Regions from separate parts of the Homo sapiens genome. Here all the other regions are linked to region 4. The links are contacts of gene promoters, found by promoter capture Hi-C in blood cells and fetal thymus (Javierre and others, 2016). All regions are on one chromosome and are shown on one strand. Each heading gives the region's core, a stretch centred on a gene start or on the middle of the fragment in contact. The rest is flanking DNA. Distances are from core to core; before and after follow the strand shown. Region 1 overlaps ARB2A (ARB2 cotranscriptional regulator A). Region 2 has its middle 18 kb from the start of NR2F1. Region 3 overlaps NR2F1-AS1 (NR2F1 regulatory antisense RNA 1). Region 4 holds the start of MEF2C-AS2 (MEF2C antisense RNA 2).

Region 1 (2,700 bases), core at 127-2,626, 4.9 Mb before region 4:
AGTGATCAGATTCTTTGTAATGTAGGATTTTTTAACCTGTTGATTATGGGTTTGTTGATATAAATGTAATAATGTTCACCTCGATTTTCCTGGAGTAACAACCAGCGTTGGTAGTAGCCCACCTGCATGAGGACGGCCAGTGTTAACAATATTTTTGTTCTGATCTTCTTCCCCATTTTTGTTTCCTCAAACAGGTTTTTAGGAGAGTGGAGATTTAAAGTCAGGATGTGGCCTTTTTATTTTAATTATATACTTAATTCTTAGAACAAGTAGAATGGGAAAGGAGTGACTGATAAATCTAAGATTCAAAATAGTCCCGTCGAAACTTAAAGGCCAGATTATTGCTTTGGAGCTTTCTATAGGTACTAGCCATCCCGTCGTTAAATGTTTTCATGGATATTTGAAAAGAAGACCATGTACCTTTAATAACTGTTCTTTTCTCGAGTTTCTGCCTCGTGCTTTGACCTGGATTGCATTATTATTGTTTATGCGAAGTAAAAAAAAAAAAGGAAAGCACAAGCTTTTCCTGTATATTATATTTCCATTTCCATTTTAAAATAAAAACAATTTTCCCAACAACAGCGGTGTTATTATTCTTGCTCAGAAGAATTCTTGCTTATTCACCAATTGCATAGAGATTTTTTAAAGCAAAAACATAAAAGGAAGGATGAGACAGCATCCGTCAATATTTTAAACCTTCTGGCTACTTTTTATTTCTGTTAGTATTGCTGTAAGGTAATATCCTAACTTTAGTTGAGTCACTATTTGGCTTGCACCTTTTACAAAGCTAACATTTCTAAGACAGTTGTTTTTAATATCTAAAATATCTCCTTAGCAAGGAAATCTGAACAACCTATCAATTAAATTGTTGTTTTATAAAATACACTTGAATATGCCATAAATAAATGTGTTTTCCAAGAGGAGTCTGGTGAGTTTAAGTTGCCTCCAAGTACATGTATATAGGTTCTTGATGTACTGTGTTCGATCTGAAAATAACTTACATTTCTTTTACAGCTTTCTTAAAACCTTTAGCCCCTTTTAGAGATATGCTAACTGTATTATCCGTGCTAATAAGTTAGATTTTGTTTGTTTCTCTGGATTATCTGCGGTTCAATCCAAACACGTGTGTCTCTTGTTATAATCATATTTTTTACTGTAAACTGACAGGTTCCTGTTGGTGTCTGTAATCCTAATTCATTTAAGAAAGAGTACTACTACAGAAAGTGTAAAAATTTCTCAAAAACTTTCCACATGCCTCTGTGGAGAAAAAAAAATGTCTTTAAATGTGAGACACTCTCATCTTTGAAATATGGGTGGCAAAAAGGGGGATGATGGTGGTGGTTATTTTATTATTACTTATTAGTGGCCATAATAATATAAAATAAAAGACTCCAGGAGGTACTCCCTTTCAAAAATTGAATACTTTCCTTCCTTCCTTATATAGAATGACTGAGTGGGAGTCTCTTGAATTGTTCGTCTTCCTTTTATCTAATATTCTATTAATCTCCAAAAAGATCAGTTTGAGTCTGGGAAAGGGTTTTTAATCAACACTTCACAGAGCTTAAAGCTACCCTACCTAAAGCGTCAGCTTTGTTAGGCGGTTTTAGATTTAAAGCATTGCAACTGTCATGCACTGTACTAAAAGTAAAGAATGTACACCAAGTGGAAGATGTTGAAAAGAGGGGAATAGCACAAAGTCGATTAACGGAGATTCGAGAATAGAAGTAGCCATCAAAGCATTCCAGCATTTATCTCAAAATCTATGTAAGGTTTTTTTAAAAAAGCAACAATGATAGTTTTAAACCACACACTTAAGAGGGATGAATGTTGATTTAATTGATTCATTTGGATCGATGTTTTTAAAGTTTCACACTACTGATCTTTCATGTAGTGATGTCTTTAGCAGTCAGTGGTCTGACATGAGCCTTCTCAGATTTCATCAGTGGGACTCTCCATGACGTCTAAAATTATGCAACAGCCTATGCAATGGTAACTTTAGAATTGGGAGACCTTGATGCCAAAGAGCGTGATTAGATTGAAGAACTCTTGTTAATTCCCAGCACAAAGGTTTTAGAGAAGTAATAACTGTAAAATGAACCACAAAGGTTAAAATCACCAAATATTAAATAGTTGGCTTTAATTGCTAGATGGGAGAAAGTCATCCTGAAAGTTTGACCATGAAGTGGATACCACACAGTGACCACTATTTTCCCCTGGAATATAAAAAGCTTGAAAGTGGAAATTTGACTTAGTCCATGAGGCCTTCTAAGCAACTTTTCCCAGTCCTTCGCCTTGAGATTTGTGAAAAACCTTTCACTATATCCTTTATATTGTTGGAGTTGAGTTCTGTTTGAAACAGACATGAAGCATGTTTCTAGAAAGAAATCTAGAGAAGTCCTACATCTTTCCTTTTAGATCATTCATCTTTTTCTTCCTTGGCTATTACCTCGGGTAATATGGAGAACTGTCATGGGTAAAATAATGTTGAACTGTACTTTGTGGCCAGCCTGCAATACCAATACAAAGAATCTGAAATGAAAAGACAACCAACACCCCAAGAATGATATATCTCCTTTTAAAGTTTACAATTTGAATAATGAATTTGGATAGAAACTTGGCAGGAAAACAAACCATGGCACCATCACATCACCAACCATTTTCACTTTTCTGTCCAATTTCAGAGTGCATGTGTTTGTGAGT
Region 2 (2,700 bases), core at 59-2,558, 4.9 Mb before region 4:
TAGTGAACAAACATAATGACCGGAGTACTTATGTCTATCCGGTTTACTCACTTAAACCCAAGGTATGTAACATCACGATAAATATTAATATCCACCTCGACAGACCCTCAGCACCGCTGTCCTCCTAAACTCTCCCTTCCTGAGCGCTGCCCTTAACAAAAAGGCCAGAGAGGAGGTTTTTAACATAAAATGCTGCAAATATGAAAAATAGGTCACCAATAAAATTGGTCTCAGCATGGAGCGTAATTGCAACAAAGTGCCGCCGAGTAAAATCGAGGAGTGAGCTGGCTGAGGCGGCACAGTCGCGAACCATCTGGTGTGTATTAAGAGTGGTGCTGTAAATATTGCTGAGAGCTAATGCATTATCGGCTTCTATAAGTGCACAGGGCCTCTAAGCTTTCCATATGTTAGAATATGTAGATCGGGTGAGAGCAAGGAAAGGTGTCTTATCAATCACAGGCTTCTAAAGCATTGTTTTGCCCACTCTTTGTGGATTTTTGGCCCCCCAAAGTGTAGGATATACATTCTCATTCTCTCCCCCCACCACCCTTTTTCCTCTTCTGTCAATTCCTCTTTCTCTTTTTCTCTTGCTCTTTCTCCCAGCTCCTTCCTTCCATACCCTCCTCCTCTCTCCCCTCTCTCCAAGGGGATAGGGCAGGCATTGCTGACGTCACTTCACATCAGTAAAAGAGAGTAACTGTTTCAGAGAGGAAGAAAAAAATCATCTGTTTTTCATCAGTACTAAAGTTTTGCCTCTTTAATAGAAATGGGCTGCCCAGGCTGAGTACTCCTTGTGTTTTGAAGCTTATAATCACTACTACCCCCTTTTGGAGGGTGGCCCAAGAGGTGGGGAGGTGTTCTTCATCCTGTGCGCTGATTCATTTTATATGTGGTTCTAATGCCAGAATCAGCTCAAATAGATGAAACTAATAAGGTGCAAAGATAATGTCTTCTAGAGATTTCACATCTACACCTCCTAGGCAACTTTTGTCAAGGAGAGTGGAGGGCTCCTGGTTCCATGACACTTCTGCTTTGAGTCCTGGAACTTCTTCCTTTCTCTGGAGCCTCCCTCCATAATTCCACCCCCCACATACCTAACCGCCACACACAGCACAGCTAATAAATTTCCTGCTGTCACATTACTTTTCTGGGGAAAACAGAGTCCTCCTTTTCCTGATGATACCCCACATCTAAGAGTTTACTATAATTACCCCCCATCTCCTCTGAACCCCTCTCCACATATTCCTCAGCTACAAGTTTTTAGTCAAATCCAGTGCTAGGAAGTTTATTTACGTTGTCCCACAGAGATCATTTTCTCTCCTTCAAAATTGGCCTGGTCTGTTATTCTTCCTACTTTCCTTCTCCTTCCTTTTCTCCCCACCTCTACCTCCTGTGCACATATAGTACAAACCTCCAGCACTTCTAATGTGGATAAACCTGCTGGTCATGACAACCCAAGTTCAATCAGCAAATAAATAAAACTCTTACTTTTCTTTTTTGGCTGCCGGCTGCACTCCCCCTCTGGCCGTTGCCTCCTTTAATTATAGGAGCTATATTTCTTCCCTGGGAGACATTCGAGGGGATTTTTAGTTGGAAACTCGTTTCTGCTGAGTTATTTTGGAGCCAGGACCAGTGAGTGAGTGGCCCGTACCCAGAGGCTTTGAGTGAAGTGCAGATTGAGACATATCGAGTTCCCTTTAAAAGGATCATTTCATGTGGGAGGCTGGACACAAAGTTTGCACTCGTGACTGGCATTCCAGTGAGAGACATGCATATTTTAAAACAACAAAGCAAGCTGGAAAGAAAGCTTAGGGGAGGGGGAAAAACTTGGAAAGAAGTTACTAAGTGACAAACATCTGTCAACATGGGATAATTTGTACACTCCAATGTAAAACTATCTGCCTAGTTTGATGGAGTTCAAGGAACAGGATCTGGGAGAGCAAAGTGGATACATATTTATCCCCGTTGAGATATGGCTAAAAGACACTTCTCCCCCAAATAGGTGTAAGGTCATTAAAACTGCATGATTGAGCATAATTTTTAAATGCTTCTTACAACAATAGAAATTTCTAAAATTGCATTTTTCTGATAGTTAATACAAAACTAGATCTATGTAATTTTAAGATGTATTTCATTTAAAGAACAATGGAGAGCAATAAAATAATGAGCAAGATGCTTATTACAGAAAACAAAATGAATTTTATCTCATAATAAAATATGACCAAGAGAAAGAAAGCGGGGTGGGAAGCTCAAACAACCCCTGATTGCTATGTTCTAGAAAGTTTTAACCGAAAGTACCAGCTTTACATGTGTATGTGAATCAAACATGTAAACATCCACCTCTCTTTGTGTAAACAAGGAAAAATGGCAAAATATTTTCAGAGAATTTTTCTCTCCCATTTAAGTTTGAAGTTTCAACAAGCATATTATACTTTGAGAGAGAAAAGCAAAAAAGTTCCCTCTTTAAGAGGAAAGTTTTTAAAAGCAGAGTGAAAGATCAGGCAAGATCCTGGTATGTCTTTTTTTAGGCACCGAATCTCCAACAACCACATGGAAGTTCAGGCTCCAGCTTCCACCGAGAAATCTTTTTCTCCTCCAGATCTGAAGACAAAAGGAGAGGAGGCCTGGTGGTGAGCGGGATATCTCTGTTAGTTGTCAGCGCAGGTCCATGGGTTAGGAATGCTAATGAGCCTCTTGGCC
Region 3 (2,700 bases), core at 15-2,514, 4.9 Mb before region 4:
TGCTGGAATTTACACAAGAGCTTGAATTAAAAATTTTAAGTCTTTAAACTTAACACAGCATTAGGAAGTAACATATATCTTAAATGGTTACATTTTATGTGTGAAGAAGTACCTCAAATATGGTGTACCAGGAATTAGTCAGTTAAGTTGTAGATTAGTAGGTAAATTTACACTTAGTTTCTGGTGAAAACAAGGACCATGTATAACACTTTGTAGTTGGATGGACAAAGTAATATTTATTTTACCCAGATATTTGACCATACTGATTAATGATGCTAATTATTTAAAAACGTTCATCTCCTATTGGTGTCAGCCAGCATAGATGGTACTGAATTCTGAAGATACAGTCACTGGCCCTTGGGTTCACCACACTGTGGAAGAAAAATCTTTATTTGACGAAATAGGCAATCAACTGAAATCTATCCTCTTTAAATAAACTGATTCCTCAGTATTTTCTCAGTGTTGGTGTAAGTTGTTGCCTGTGATATCCCCCAGGGCTCTTTTCCTCTGCTCTCTGATTTGGTATATAAAAACAGCTCTGAATGATGGATTACTGTGTCATTGCAGCCTGCAAAGGATTAATTTGTTTCATTGATTTCTCTTTAGGCAGATTGCCAGAATTTGCTGCTTCCCACCTTTGCTCAAGACTTCTACAAGTAATAGACAGTAATAGCCTAAGACAAATCAGCTTCTTCTTGTAAAAATAAAATCAGGAAACTAAGAGTCCTAGGAAAGCTATGGCAAACTTTTTTACTGGCATACTGAAACAGCAATCAATAGGCTACTTCATTTGCTTTACAAATATTTGTAATTGAAAATTTCCTTGAATTAGCAACATACTACATATCATATTAATAGATCTTAAGGAAGCATTTGTAATGTTTGTTCCATAAAAATTTTCCCTAATTTGTAAGGATTCCGTTTAACCCAGGAAAAAAAAAGGTGTTGTCTATGTGATTGACAAATACTTCTTTTTCTGTGCCAGATTTCAGGATCAAATAACATATCAACATAACTTTAAGTCAATTTACCTGTAAATATTTATAGGACTCTTTTGCCCAAAGAATTTTAGAAACTTTGGACTGAGAATATCAGATGATAGAAATAGAACTGTTTAAAGAAAAAATAACTTTTTCTGATAAAAGTAGTATATGCCCATAAGACAGAATTTACAAAAATTAGAAATGCCATTTTGTATAATAAGGTTTTCTCTAAACTTTATTCTTCTAAGCATTTAATGTAATATGATTAAAATTATTAAAGTCATTTATATTGACTCTATAATGTTTTAACATATCTACTTTAATTATTGCTCTATTAGACAACTCAGATGTTTAATTTTCATTTGTATAAACTAAGTTGTAATGAATAGCATTTTAAATAAATCTTTAGCCATCCCTATGGTTATTTCCTTACAATATGTTATTAAAAGAGAAATTACTTAGACTGAGAATATAGACTGTTTTTTAAGGTTCTTGATATTGATTGCCCAATTGTTTTCCAGAAAGGTTCTACCAATTTATACTGGTACTTAAAAAAAATTCCTCTGTAGAGGCAGCATTCTAATTCATGTTACATGAGCAAAGAAAACAGAACAACACTCTTTTTCTTGTGTTCTGAAAGCAGTGGTAGCGTTTTGCATATATTTAATCTGTCAGAAGTATTTTCCCAACTGCAGATGTGAAATAGGCTGGTTATACACATCTATTTGTTTCTCTTCTGTAGTGCTGAAAATTATATTGATTTAATGATCTCAAGTTATACTTTTTATGCAATTAGTTGTGTAGTAAAAACTAATATTGTCATGTGCTAATGTCTTTTTTCCTCTATTGTGCTATGGTAGTAGTCTATGCAATATCAGCAAGTTTATACTTTCCCTTTGCTTTGCTGAAAGGAAAAAGGAACATCTGTTTCCATTATATATCTACATCATAATGATAACAATTAAATAGCTATTATGGTAGTATACAGTAAATATATTTTGCTGAATGACCTGTACTTTCTTGTTGGAAAATTTCAGATATTTTGGAGGCACTTAGTTTTTACACATAGGTTCTATGTAGATATTTAGATAGGCCTTTGCTTACTTTAGGTAAATTATTGCAGTTCTTATTTGTTTCAATAAAAACAACCAGCCAATCTGACGATGAAACACTAGGCTACTAGATGTGACTCTTGAATGTATTTAAAGTACAGATTGTTAAGTATGTCTCTCAATAGTCTTAAATGGGTTTATCATGCTATTAGTAATAAAATTTATTTTGTGTTTTGTGCTATTTGTGTAGTACTTTTATATTTTACTAAGTTAGATTAGAAATAGTTATATATATATATATTTTAGCACATTACGCTTTTTTTTTCTTATGTTGGGGGACACAGTGATATTTACCTTTTAAACTCAGCAGGAGAATATTTGAAACCATACACAACTATTTTCATTGACCTTTAAAGTTCCAGAGAAGTGTTTTCATTTATTTTACCTTTTGATTAAAGATGTTTTGGTGATTACATAAAAAAAGACTAGAAAGTATTTCATACAAAATGGTATATGAAGAAAAATAAGCATCCATATACCCCAAACCCAGTTCGAGAAATAAAATATTAACAGTACAATTGAAGCCTTCCAGAATATATTTCTTTATGGCTTCTTGAAAAGATAATTATCCTAAATTTGGCAGTTATCCTTTTTGCTACTTAGTT
Region 4 (2,700 bases), core at 148-2,647:
GTTTGAAATAGGGGGAAATACATGTGAATATTTATACATGAAGGCCATTGGGGAGGGCTGAGTCTTGGCCTGAGTATCTGTGCAGGTAAGTCATTCATAAGAAAACTAATTACCTGTGCATGTACTTGGACTTGTTTAATTGAATAAGCTGCATGTGTGCATACTTGCTGTTCTTTCAGGGTTTGCAATTATAGATTGAGTCTTTTTTAAATGATAGCTTGGGGGAATTAAAAGGTGGAAAAAAGCCATCGTGCTGCATAGCTATATTGCCAAGAAAGAGAATCCGATCCTATAAACAAGATTACCATTGCTTGAAATCTAACTCAAGGCCTGTATATTTTAAGCCACATCAACTGGTTTAATATAGCCAATTGTTTTATTTGTGTATTTGCTTTCATTTCAAAGTCAGGAATCAAGGATGCTTTTCAGTCAAGATAATGTGCCTTGTTTCCAGCCATATTAAGATAAAAATGAAACTCAGTAAATTTTGAATGCAGCCAATAAGGTACAACATACAACATGGTTGAAAATGTCTTCCTTGCAGAAGGCTGTCCATTGCTGTGTCTACCCATTTTAAAATATATATATTTTTTTCAATAAGAAATGCTAGAAAGCAATAGGGCGGGGAATGCCGCACCTCTCAGGCAATCAGCACAAAAATTATTTAGAAATCTTTGGAATCACTTCACTTATACATACATTATCTCGAAAGCACTGGCCCCGAACTGTGTTTCTGCTAATATGAAGTTAATTAGACAATCAAACTTTGAGCCTTGAGCGATGGGCACTACAGCCCATCAAGGTATGTCAAGAAAGAAAAAAAAATGTGTATTTTCCTTTATGACCAAACCAGGAGGTTATACAGCTGGCATTGCATACATGACAGATGTGCATATTTGTAACCTTAAATAAACAGAAGCAGGGAGGTAACTGTGTATATTATCTAGCAAGAGACAGCAGCAGACACTCGCCAAAAAAGACAGAAAGGGACAAGAGAGACACATAGACATAATAAAATAACAACAATAAAAATCCTCCAAAAAAAAAAAGAGGGAAAGGGAACCAATAAAATGACAAAATCTGAAATTCTCGCAAATTAAAAAATGCAAATATACCTTTACATATGCATCAGTATTAAAAATAATACACGCTGGAACCAACAGGAGCGAGAGCAAGAAGAGGAGGAGGAGGTGGAGGAGAAGGAGGAGGAGGAGGAGAGGTGGAAGAGGAGGAGGAGGAGGAGGAGGAGGAGGAGGAGGAGGAGGAGGAGGAGGAGGAGGAGGAGGAGGAGGAAAGAATGGAGGCGCCGCGGAGCCCTGATTATGCATGGGCTGGAGCTGCCTCCTCTAACCTGTTCTTCTCCGAGCCGGGCAGCCGGCGGTCCTCAGCCGCCCACAGAACAGGAGCCGAAACAACCGTTCTCGAAGGCTACAGCGTTTATTTTTCTCTTTTGGGGGGTTTTGGCGGTTGTTTCAGGGGCTCGCCAACTGGCCCCTTTAATTAAAAGCTTCAATAAAAGGCGATCGCGCCAGGAATGCACCCGCTCCTCTTCGCGCAGGATTTGCATATTTTTTTAATGCCCTAATTTCCTTGATGTATGTAAATGTAGCCGGACGTAGAGGGAGACAGGGAGCTGACGTCAATGGACGTGACCTCGCAGCTAAACCTTGAACGTGAAGCCGGGATGGGGGAAAACACGGAGCGGCAGCCGGCGGAGCCCGAGAGCGCGGGCGGCGGCGGCAGTAGCCGAGCCCAGGCCGGGGTGCCAAGGGACCAGTGCCGGCCCCGGGGGAGGACAAGCCGCCGCCTTCTTTCTGCACCGCGCGGCTCTCAGACTCGCCAGCCTTCCGGCCGCACACGCAGACTCTTGCCCTGAGCTTCCAGCCCCACCACACACACGTTCTTTTGCTTCCCTCAGAAAAGCAACACTCCCCAAAACAACAAACCAAAATCAACAGATAAAACAGATGTTTTAGACCAATGCTCGGGTAGCTTATCAGAAAGAAGACTCTGACCACGGAACATATATATTTTTTGGCTTCTCTCCACAAGAAGAGGAGCGAGAGACCACAGACAACAGCAAATCACTCCTAAAACACGATAACTACAAGTGCTCCCTGTAGGGAGAGGTAAATCGCCCAGCCGACTGGTGAAGTCTTCTGGTTTCGGTACCTATTTACCTGTGCACTCATTATGCGCCTCGGCTTCATTAACGGCAGGATCATGAGCGCGCGTTTTAATGTGATGGGAGTGCTGTGTTGTGTGTGTGTGTGTATGTATGTATGTGTGTTGGGAGGTGCTTGCGCTAGTGAGCACCGAGGCAGGCGCTCTGAGCAGAGAGAGATCAGTCTTTCCATGGCCACGTCTGGGACTCATCTGCGGAGCCATCTAGGCCAGGGCTCCTAGATTGGGGTTCGACTTCACCCCATGTAAAAAGAGAGGCCAGCAAAGGCTTCCCCTGAACAGCCAGGTCCTTCCCATCGGATTGTTTGAGGAAGGAGGCTTGAAGTGTGAGCCATTCTGTAGCCGCCGCCTTGCCGGATTTGGCCTGGTGTTTTGCACTTGAAACTCAGCGGCCTCAGCGCGGAGGTAGTGCCTCTCCGAGACGCGGCCGAGGCCTTGTCATTCCCCTCCTTCCGCCCGCGGCAGCCCTGCGCGCCGGCGTGTGCGTGCCCGCGCACCGGACCGCTGGCACCTCCC

What was found. Contacts are between HindIII fragments. The CHiCAGO score rates a contact against its expected background, and 5 or more counts as called.
Region 1: a fragment that was not itself captured here is called in contact with the fragment with the promoter of MEF2C-AS2 in region 4 in 2 of 17 cell types (total B cells and naive B cells); the score reaches 10.5 in total B cells.
Region 2: a contact is called between a fragment that was not itself captured here and the fragment with the promoter of MEF2C-AS2 in region 4, in 2 of 17 cell types (naive B cells and total B cells). The highest score is 30.3, in naive B cells.
Region 3: a contact is called between a fragment that was not itself captured here and the fragment with the promoter of MEF2C-AS2 in region 4, in 2 of 17 cell types (total B cells and naive B cells). The highest score is 12.4, in total B cells.

The regions. Positions count from the first base shown.
Region 1 is chr5:93,615,948-93,618,647 of GRCh38, reverse strand. It overlaps ARB2A (ARB2 cotranscriptional regulator A), which reads left to right. Exons shown (of 11, transcript NM_032042.6): 11 at 1-923. Among named protein-coding and RNA genes, the nearest start is that of MIR2277, 3.5 kb to the left of the region's middle. RefSeq lists an enhancer at 1-514. The HindIII fragment of the contact is 1,708 bases long and covers 523-2,230 here.
Region 2 is chr5:93,599,629-93,602,328 of GRCh38, reverse strand. No RefSeq gene overlaps it. Among named protein-coding and RNA genes, the nearest start is that of NR2F1, 18 kb to the right of the region's middle. RefSeq lists an enhancer at 2,438-2,700. The HindIII fragment of the contact is 1,003 bases long and covers 807-1,809 here.
Region 3 is chr5:93,565,468-93,568,167 of GRCh38, reverse strand. All of the region lies in intron 1 of NR2F1-AS1 (NR2F1 regulatory antisense RNA 1), which reads left to right. Among named protein-coding and RNA genes, the nearest start is that of NR2F1-AS1, 14 kb to the left of the region's middle. The HindIII fragment of the contact is 4,981 bases long and covers 1-2,700 here.
Region 4 is chr5:88,674,915-88,677,614 of GRCh38, reverse strand. It overlaps MEF2C-AS2 (MEF2C antisense RNA 2), which reads right to left and starts at 1,397. Exons shown (of 4, transcript NR_146284.1): 1 at 1,352-1,397. All of the region lies in intron 1 of MIR9-2HG (MIR9-2 host gene), which reads left to right. RefSeq lists enhancers at 1,323-1,888, 2,326-2,425. The HindIII fragment of the contact is 5,913 bases long and covers 1-1,509 here.